Regions from separate parts of the Homo sapiens genome. Here region 1 is linked to region 2. Evidence: promoter capture Hi-C in human tissues and cell types (Jung and others, 2019). All regions are on one chromosome and are shown on one strand. Each heading gives the region's core, a stretch centred on a gene start or on the middle of the fragment in contact. The rest is flanking DNA. Distances are from core to core; before and after follow the strand shown. Region 1 overlaps DAZAP1 (DAZ associated protein 1). Region 2 holds the start of APC2 (APC regulator of Wnt signaling pathway 2).

What was found. The method cuts DNA at HindIII sites, captures the fragments that hold promoters and counts their contacts. A contact is called where the count stands out against the background at its distance.
Region 1: a fragment that was not itself captured here is called in contact with the fragment with the promoter of APC2 in region 2 in 1 of the 25 tissues and cell types used here (dorsolateral prefrontal cortex).

Annotation. Positions count from the first base shown.
Region 1 is chr19:1,412,022-1,416,962 of GRCh38, forward strand. The region is part of intron 1 of DAZAP1 (DAZ associated protein 1); the gene reads left to right. Among named protein-coding and RNA genes, the nearest start is that of DAZAP1, 6.9 kb to the left of the region's middle. RefSeq lists enhancers at 3,913-4,506, 4,507-4,941. The HindIII fragment of the contact is 3,172 bases long and covers 1-3,043 here.
Region 2 is chr19:1,446,103-1,451,370 of GRCh38, forward strand. APC2 (APC regulator of Wnt signaling pathway 2) reads left to right here and starts at 4,019. Exons shown (of 15, transcript NM_005883.3): 1 at 4,019-4,236. RefSeq lists silencers at 129-178, 828-1,122, 3,866-4,065. The HindIII fragment of the contact is 30,284 bases long and covers 1-5,268 here.

The DNA of each region.
Region 1 (4,941 bases), core at 208-2,707, 37 kb before region 2:
GCTCCAGGCGTTGCCAAGGAGAACACTGGTCCGCCTGGGAGGGCGGGGCTGGCAGGGAGAGGATGAGGGTGACCACAGTTAGCACCCAGGATGTGGGCATTCAGGGGCTCCTTCAGCACACAGCAGCGCGTTCCAGTTCACGGACCGCTCCTGTGTTCTGTGGACCCCACACCCTGCAGGCGTGGGCTGGAGGGGGGGCATCTGACCCTGCTGGGGAGAGGGAGTCCAGGCTATGGAGGGGCGGGCTGGGCTCACTGGCCTGAGGCAGTGGGTGAAGTGGTCCTGGTTTCCCACCTGGTCTTAGGGGCAGGAAAGTCCCTAGAGGCTCTTCCTGATGCTCTGGAAGAAGAGAAGGGTTCCCCACACATCAGCCGCCACTGGGCCTGGACTTCTGCCTCTTGAGATTGTGCACGGAGCTGAGTGTGACTGGCGGAGCCCAGAGCCAGGTGGGGTCTGTGGGGAGGCAGGCTCCTCCTGGCTTGGTCCCCCGGCCCAGCAGGAAGGGAAAGGTCGCCTGCCAACTGCCCCCATTGAGGCTGCTGGCCCCGAATGGCCGGGCTGGCCGCCGGTTTTTGAAGCCCACTCTGGTGCTGCCAGGAGGTCAGGGCTCTTTGTGGTCAGCCTAGGCCAGAGGAAGCCTCTGCAGATGGACTTTACGCATAAATACCGCACAGGCACCCGAATGGCACGCAGCAAGCGAGGTTGCCATCCAAAACGGCTTTTGCTTTAACAGGCAGAAGAGGGTGGCTGCGCCGGCCACCGTGGATTGAGCACCTGCCAGGTGTCGAGCTGCAGGCCCTGGGTGCCAGGCTTGCAGATCCTGGGAGATGTTCATCATGACCTTTGATGGGCAGACTGCACGCTGGACTCCAGGTTGCAAGGGAAGAAGTGGAGCTCGTCCCACGCCTCCCCCACTAATGAGAACACCCCTTTTGGGTTTGTGGGGTGTGAGGTCTGTAGGAGCCACGACTTCCAGTGTCGGAGATGCCGTCAGCTGGGTGATGACTCTCCCACCCAGCGGGCCCCTCAGAGGCAGGGTGCAGGAGCCACATTGCTCACCGACCCCTTCATCTGCGTAGGCCAGTGTTGCCTTGCCCCGTTAACGTCCTCAGTCCACACGCCGCCAGCCAAGGTGCAGGCTGAGCAAGCCTGGAGCTGAGGACAAGCGGACCGCCAGCCCCGTAGCAAGCCCACGAGAGCCAGCAGCTCCTCCTTTTGGCCTCTGCCCGCGCCCGGCTTCCTGGACTCCGACGTTTACTTGTGTGAGAGTTGGTTCTGCTGCCTGGGCAGTTGATGGACAGTGTCTGGGAGGTGCCTGCCCAGGGCTCCGCATGTTTCTGATGTGCCGGCTTCTCACTCACGACCTGGTGAGGTTGGCAGCCAGGAGCTTTCTTATTTTATTGATTAAAACATCCTGAGATTCAGAAGTAGGGACTTTGTGCCAGGGCCCTGGAGGCAGTCCCTGCCACTGAAGAGATGACCCTGCTTTCCGGGACTTCCCGGAGGCTTCTGTCTGTAGACCAGGGAGAAGGTGTTCGCCGGTGGCTCCTGAGTGGTAGTAAAAGACACATGGACACAGGAAGCTTTAGCGTTAGAAGCTGCTCTCAAATATCTCAACAGAAACACACAGTGTGGCCGCGCGCGGTGCCTCACGCCTGTCATCCTAGCACTTTGGGAGGCCGAGGCGGGCGGGTCACCTGCGGTGGGGAGCTCCAGACACAGCTATGTGAAACGAAAGCTATCTGTTGCTGTCTCAGATTCCATAAGGACTGAGACTTGTTTCAAAAGAAACTGAAATTCTGTCTTGTTCTCAGTAATGAAAGTCTTTTATACCATAATTGTATATATAACTTCTGACTTACAGGAAAATTACAAAAATTCCCATATCCTCTTGGCCCTGCCAGACTCACCATTGGCTGACATTTTACCCTTTGGCACGTGGTGCCTCTTGCCCCACCCCCAGTGAACTGTGTGTGTGTGTGTGTGTGTGTGTGTGTGTGTGTGTGTGTGTTTAGATGGACCCTCACTCTGTCGCCCAGGCTGGAGTGCAGTGGCTTGATCTTGGCTCAGTGCAACCTCCGCCTCCCGGGTTCAAGCAGTACACCTCGAGCTCAGCCTCCCGAGTGGCTAGGATTACAGGTGCGCACCACCGAGCCCAGCTAATTTTTGTATTTTTAGTAGAGATGGGGTTTTGCCATGTTGGCCAGGCTGGTCTCGAACTCCTGACCTCAGGTGATCCGCCCACCTCAGCCTTGCAAAGTGCTGGGATTACAGGCGTGAGCCAGTGCACCCATCCCCACTGTGTGTGTTTCTACTGAAATATTTGAGAGTAGCTGGAGACCGATGCAGTCCCCTTTATGTGTACACTGAGATATCTATTGTTTCCCAAGAACAATGACATTCTCTCACATGAACACAGCACAGTGATCAAAATTGAGAAAGTGGCCGGGCGCAGCTACTCACGCCTGTCATCCCAGCACTTTGAGAGGCCGAGGCTGGTGGATCACGAGGTCAAGAGATTGAGACCATCCTGGCCAATATGGTGAAACCCCGTCTCTACTAAAAATACAAAAATTAGCTGGCGGGCGCCTGTAGTCCCAGCTACTCGGGAGGCTGAGGCAGGAGAATCGCTTGAACCCGGGAGGCGGAGGTTGCAGTGAGCTGAGATCGCGCCACTACACTCCAGCCTGGGCAACACAGCGAGACAATTTTTCAAAAAAAAATTGAGAAAGTATTTATTATTTTTTAAAATTGTATTTGAGTATTTTTTATTTTTTTAATTTTATTTAAGAGTATTTTTTATTTTTTTTTTAATTTTATTTAAGAGATGAGATCTCTGTCACCCCTGCTGGAGTGCAGTGACACAATCACGGCTCACTGCAGCCTCGACCTTGACTCAAACGATCCTTCTGCCTCAGCCTCCCAAGTAGCTGGGACTACAGGTGCCTGCCACCACCTGGAGTCTCGTTACGTTGCCCAGGCTGGTCTTGAACTCCTGGCCTCCCGTAATGCTGTGATTATAGGCGTGATCTGCGCCCAGCTGAGAAAGACAGTACTGATACCAGGTTATCTAACCCCCCCGGCCCTGTTTCAGGTTTCTCAGCTGAGCGTTTCTAGCCCTTCCCCCTTAATACACAATTTTTGAAATTTAAATGAAGACCGAAACTGGACTGGTCTGACGAGTTCCTTCTGCCAGTGAGGTGGGGGTGGAGGGGGTACTGGGCTGCTTGGAGGACACCTGCCTGTTACCTGGCTGTTGGGTGGGTGCAGTGCTGACTACAGGCTGCTGTTTCTTCAAGTGACTTGGATTTGGTTTGGTTTTCAGGGTTTTATGTGTGTGTGTGTGTGTGTGTGTGTGTGTGTGTGTGTTTTGTTTTTTTTTTTTTTTTTGAGAACTGCTTGAACTTTAATTCCAAAGGATTGTGTAAATGAGCATTTTTCCGGTCGGTTCCAGCCAGGCTTGGGGGCCCTTCCTTCATGGGGTGGGGGCTGCTGCTGGCTCCTGCTGGGTGCCGGGCCCTGCTGGCAGGGATGTGGGCGGGGCTGGCCCTGACTCAGCGCGGGCACAGCCTATGGAGAGTGAGGCACAGCCTATGGAGAGTGAGGCACGCGGAGGCCTCGCTCCTCCCACGGTCTCTAGGCCTGACCTCAACGCTCCCTGGCCTGATTGCGAAGGGTGCGTGGGAGACGTAGGATTTTAAGTTAATGAGGCCTCAACCTAAGCCTGTTGCTGTTGCGTGATCAGCATGGTTTTCCCTGAAATTTGCCTTTTCAGATCTCGTCTCTAAGGGTCAGGAAGCACAGGGCGGCTGGCACACCCCGCCTCTAATTCTTCCCGCCTCAGCCCTCCCCACCGAAGAACGGGGCTGGGGGGTTGCTTGTTGACGTTTTGAAGACGGCAGTGGGTGCCTTTCCTGTGGTGGGAACATGCTTTGTTTTTCACACACTAAATTTAAATCAGTCGTTCTTAGGGAAAAAAGAAGGAACAGGGACAAGCTCCTGGCGGTTGGCTGTGGCAGACACTTCACCAGGGGCTGACTCGCGGGGGCTGAGTGTACAGGCCCCAGGTGGTGGTTGATGAGAGGTGATGAGTGTGCCAGCCACCTTGCAGGGGTCTTTCCTGGCGAGCTGGCAGGAGCAGGGAGGAGCACGTTGCTCCTGCTGCTGGTGGGGCAGTAACGTGTTCAACCTGACAGCGACGTTTTTGCTGAAAGCCGAAGCCAAGGGTGGTGTGGTTGGCCGTCAGGGATACAGGGCCCCGCGTGGGAATGGTGCTTTCAGTGAGGCTGGCAGGATTCTTGCGGCTCAGGTGGGAGCTTTGGCCTGCACGGTGTTTTGCTCTCTGGAGACCAAGGGTGATGATGGTGCTGGCACTGAGTCACAGCTGAGATTCAGCTCAGGGACTTCATTTCTGAATGCGTGTCCTCTTTCCCAGGGAAAGCAGGCAGGATGGGAGAGTCGCCGATAGAACCACCTCTTCCCTGCCTCCTGGGCTTGGGGGAAGCTTGAATGACATCTAAGGCCCCGTGCCTGGGTAAGCCTTGTGGTGTCTCAGACATGCCCAGTGGGTGCCATGGCTGACTCAAGGTGGCACAGTCCCCATTGGGAGTTGGCACAGTCCCCATTGGGAGTTGGCACAGCCAAGGCCCTGGGGCCACCTGGAGCGGCAGTGAGGTGGAAAGGTGAGTGGGCCCTTGGGCGTCGCTGCAGGGTCGATGGCGGACGCCTTGGGAGAGCTCCAGCTCTTCTGCCCGGAGGAGACAGCCCCAGGACGGGGGTGGCGCGGGTCTTTGGTGGGGGCAGGCAGGAAGTGCCAGTGCTGAGACTGAATTTCAGGCCCTTCTCATCTGCCAATAAGAGACAGCCCCAGAATGGGGGTGGCGCGGGTTTGTCGGGGGTAAGTAAGTGGGGCCAGTGCTGAGACTGGAGCTTCAGGGCCTT
Region 2 (5,268 bases), core at 2,769-5,268:
CCGCGAGCACCCCCAGACCCCACGGTACGCCCTCGCCCCTTTCGGGAGGAGCCCCGCCCCGGGCCCGCGGACTGACCCCTCCCGCCCCTCTCCGCGCAGGCGCAGGGCGGCCCCGTTCGCGTCCCGCACCCCCACCCTGGCCGCCGAGGGGCGGGGCGCGGCGGGTCCGGGGCGGCCGCGGCTCCATGGGGCTCCTGGGGCTCCTGAGCCTGCTGCACTCGGCCTTCTTCGGGGACCAGGTAGGGCGCGTGGGTCGAGCCGTTGGGGAGGGCTCCGGGCCGCGCAGGAACGGGGCGGGGTCCACACCGCGGGAACAGCGGGCGCGGCGGCGGGGGGCGCATGGGGCGAGCGCGCGGAGGCTGCAGAGTCGGGGGTCTAGTGCCGTCGCCGTAGAGACCGTTGCCGGGAAACCGCCTCGGAAGGCTGGCGGGGATGGAAGCCCCTCTCGTGCGCCGCTGCGACCCCCAGCCCCGGGTCTGCGCAAGCGCAGGGCTCGCCCAGCCCAGCCCTCGGCCTCTGCAGGAGACCCTCGGACCCCTCCTCACTGCGCCGACGCGGAGGCTGCGCCAGCTGGGGCGGCGGGGGCGGCTGCGGGGGCATCCTGCGGAGGCTCGGCCCTGCGCAGGGTGGGGGCCTGGGCCACGCCCTGCGCTTCTTTGGGCCTCAGTTTCCCCTTCTGGGCGCGAGCGTATGGCCTGCTTTGACGTTCGCCGCCGCTGCTGTTCGTATCCGTCCGCTCCCGACCCCAGCGCTTCTCCAGCCTCCGGAATCGTCTGAATTTCGCGGCTGTGACATCCCTCATTGGAGGGGAAACTGAGGCTGGGGGGTGCAGCGGGGAGCCCAAGGTCACGCTTCGAGGCCGGAGCCTCGTTGCGGAGCTAAGGCGCCCGCAAGAGAACGCGGGGCGGGGGCCGGGGAGCTGTCCGCGGTGCTGACGGAGGCGCACGTCTGCCGACTCGCCGCCGGGGAAACTGAGGCCCATAGCGGCGGTCAGGCTTCAGGGCGCGGCCTGGACCGGCCTACCCCACCCTCCCCCACCTCCGGTGGCCTCCTCACCGGTCAGGGCTCTGCCCGGCCACCCAGCCGGCGGCGGGCCGTCTCTATCCTCCCGCGATGACCTGGTGCCTTCTCTGTCCCCACCCAGCTCCCGATGGGGGCCGCCCCTGTTTCTGCCTCTAGCCCCTGGCACAGAGGAGGCATCAAGGGGGCGGGGACAGCTCGAGGTCAGACTCAGAAGGCTCAAAGACACTCCAAGAGTGAGCCGTGTGCCAGGCTGCGGACTTGCGGGGAGGTGTCACAGGACAGGGGTGGGGGAGTGAGCATTTCATGGAACTTCCCCTTTAGCCCAGCAGCAGTAGGGGGCGTGGAGGACCCCAGGGAGGAGCCTAGGTCGGGGTCTTGGGCTAGGCCCTGCGTTCTGCAGTGGGAGAAGGGGGAGACCTCTCTCAGTCTCCTGAAGTCCTAGGGGGCTGTGGGGGGTTCTTGAGGCTCTGAAATGTCTGGTGATGTCTGAGTGTGGCTGTGGTTCAAGGATTTACAGGGTCGAGGATTTTAGTGTGTGGGGGGGGATTGTTCAGGGACATAATGTTTTGTAGATTTGGGGCCAAGGGCATCTTGTCTTGGGGTCTCAGCCCCCATGTACCCTCAGCCCTCCAGGCCCTGGCCACCCCCAGAGGGATAAGAAGGGAGGTTCAGTGTCACTCCGGAGGCCTGGCTGGCACAGGTGAACTCAGGCAACACGTTCCCTGGCCCAGGCCTCAGTTTCCCCATGTATACAAGGACAGGACTGACCTTGGATCCCCCAAACCCCTGCCTGATGGGGGCCTGGGGAGCTGAGACATCTGAAACTACACAGGGAGGTGGGACTTAGTTCCTCTTTGGGGGAGGCAGGGATCATCCAACCCACCCTTCAGTAAACAAGACTGGAAACCGAGGCCAGAGAGAGACATGCCCAGGGGGACACAGGGACAACAAGGCTGAGCTGAAGCCAGGGCCCTGGGCTCTGCATCCCCAACCCCATTTCAGCCTCGCCCAGCTCTGCCCCGGCTTGACCTGTCAAACCCCACCACGCGCCCTACCCCATGGCTCCACCAGACACCCCCTGTGTCCCAAGCATGCATTGATCTTCCCTCAGCCTGGAACGCCTCTCCTCCTGATCACTGCTGTTCACTTCTCAGGGCAGCCTTCCAGCCTCCAGAAAAAAATCCCCTTCGAGGCGGGCGGATCATGAGGTCAGGAGTTTGAGACCAGCCCGACCAACACGGTGAAACCCCCTCTCTATTAAAAATACAAAAATTAGCTGGCAAGGTGGTACATGCCTGTAATCCCAGTTACTGAGGAGTCTGAGGCAGGAGAATCACTTGAACCCAGGAGGCGGAGGTTGCGGTGAGCCGAGATGGCGCCACTGCACTGCAGCCTGGGGGACAGAGCAAGACCCCATCTAAAAAAAAAAAAAAAAAAAGGCCGGGCGTGGTGGTTCACGCCTGTAATCCCAGCACTTTGGGAGGCCGAGGCGGGTGGATCACGAGGTCAGGAGATCGAGACCATCCTGGCTAACGTGAAATCCCGTCTCTACTAAAAAATACAAAAAATTAGCCTGGGCGTGGTGGCGGGCGCCTGTAGTCCCAGCTACTCGGGAGGCTGAGGCAGGAGAATGGCGTGAACCTGGGAGGCGGAGCTTGCAGTGAGCCGAGAACGTGCCACTGCACTCCAGCCTGGGCTACAGAGCAAGACTCCGTCTCAAAAAAAAAAAAAAGAAAAAAAAGAAAAAGAAAAAAGAAAAGATCCCCTGTGTCTGCCCACTGCATTGCCTCCCCAGACCCAACCAGTGGGGACAGCTGCGTCCAGCTCTGGGGGCTCCCAGACAGCCAGGCCGAAGGGCTCTCAGCCCCTGGCAGTGCTGGCCCGGGACAAGGCCCTCGGGTCTTCAGCTCAAGGCCCAACAGGAAACAGCACGGGTCCTCCCTTGCCTTTGTCTACGGGGCCTTGAATACTCGGACCTTCCCACCCTCTCCTATCATTCCCTGCACCAGCCCTTGCAGAATCTTCCGCCTCCTCTCCATTTTACAGAGGAGGAAACCGAGGGTTGAGCGGCGAATGATTTGCCCTGCCTGCCCAGCACGGAAAAAAATCACTCTTCTGGCCCCAGTCGCCTCCCTTTCTGTGCTGTGAGTCTGTGTCCAGAGCAGGAAGGGCTGCTCCGAGCTGCAGGGACGGGCTCTGTGTGTTAAACCTTCAAATGGCTTCCAGGGACTCATGGAGCATCCAGGACACCTGGAGATGGCGACTCCTGGGACCCCTGGCCCTTCCCTCCTCTGGCCTTCGGTCCGTGAGGGTGAATTAAGTGTGCCACCCACCAGGGGCAGAGACACATGGAGACAGAGATTGAGAGACAGAGAACAGAGGGGGAGACAGAAAGAGAGAGGGACATGAAGAGCAACGGAGTTACAGGAGGATCTGACGCTCCGTTGGGGAGACAGGGAGAAATGTGGGGAGATGCAGCGTCCCAGGTGCTCCCCAGTGGCCCTGCCCCTCCTCCCCTCTCCCCTCCCCACCAGGCAGGACCCTCAGGGAGCTCCAGCCTGGACCCGAACCCTGTCCCACCCTGACGCACCTGCACCAGGCCAGGCTGGACCTGTGGGGTGGGTGCAGGCCTGGCCCCAGCCCGGCCACTGCCCTGGAAACCCCTCCCCCGCCAAGATGCTGATGTAACATCCAGGATTTGATGTTTTACTCTCCAATTCTGCAAATCCAGACGCAGGAGGTTTTAAGAGGCCGTTGCACCCTGCAATAAAGTGCGGGACACAGGAATCTTGGTCCTCGGGGCACCCCCTTCCCTCGGGGGGGTTTCGCCCCCCGCACTCACGGCCCCTGAGCCCGCGCGGAGGCCCGACGCCCCGCGGCCGACGCCGGTCCCCGCCCCGGGCCGCCATTGGCTGTTGCCATGGCACCAGCCCGTCTTCCCGCGCCCTCATTGGCTGTCTCACCCGCATCCCTCATCCCGCATCCTCCCCCGCTCGCGGTGGTCTCGCCCAGCGCTAGGAGCGGCAGCGCCGCCTGCCCAGGCCCGGACCGGGCTTTGTCCGCCCCGGAGCCCCTGCCCGCGCCGCGGAGACCCCGGAGCCCGCGCGCTCCGAGGCCACCCCGGGCCGGGATTTCCGGTGGGGCCCGCGGAGCCGCGCAGAGGGAGGAGGCCCCAGACCCAGGCGCCCCGCCAGCCCAGCTGCACGTAAGCGGGTGTGTGTCCTCGGGGAGGAGGGCAGGGGCGCGACCTCCGCCTCGCGTCGAGGTTTCCATCCCTGGCTCTCAGCATTGCCCGTCAGCACAGACTCTGGACCCTCCATTTCCCCAGAGTGGGAGCTGGAGGGGAAACTGAGTCCCGGTGAGCTGGGCGTCAGCGTTTCTGCAGCCGGTCCTGCGCACACACCCACTCACGGGCTTCACCATCCGGACCTCCCTGAGGTGATCGGAGGAAGGGATGGGCAGGCCAGTGGTGTGTCTTCGGGGGTGTTGCTGCACCTCTCTGGGTGTCAGTTTCCCTCTCTGGAAAGAGGGGGTTTGGATTAAAGGAAGGAGAAAGGCCCCTTTGGGCCTGGCTTCCCATACCTGTGCCTCCCTCCCCTGAAATGCAGCCCGCTCAATAAGACCAGCCCCCAGTCATGGTGCCTTCAGGGAGTGATCGCTCAGGAAGGCCCCCAGGAGGCTACACGATGCAACCTGGGGGTGAAAGTAGGCAGAAGAGCTTCGTGGAAGAAGCTGCACTGTGTGGGATGGCAGGACTTAGAAAAGGTGCTCTAGGCAGGGCAACTGCACGTGCAAAGGCCTGAGAGAAGAGAGCCTCCAGCCTCTAAGTGAGTCGCGGTGTACATGGAGGAGTCGGAGCGTATCCTGAGGGCACTGGGGAGCCATGGAAGGTGTTTGAGCATGGGAGAAATGGGATCTCACTTGTGACGTTTAAAGCTCCCTCTGGCTGTGCATGGGGGACTGTGGGAGGCCAGGAAGAGGCTGATCAGAATGTCCTCACAGAGGGGTGTCAGGAGCTGGGGGAGGCATGATCCCGCTGGGCAGAGCTTGGAGGGACTAGCTTAGTCTGATGAGGATGCAGAAATGACCACCGAATGTGGGGAGAGGGAAGGTGTCTGAGGCTTGGCTTCGGTCAGCTGAGAAGAACCACGTGGGGGAGGCCTGGGTTTGGGGAGCAGGAGGCAGACATGTGTTGCTTTGCACGTCATCTGGTCCTTCCACCTGGCTGGGCATGGGATGGTGACC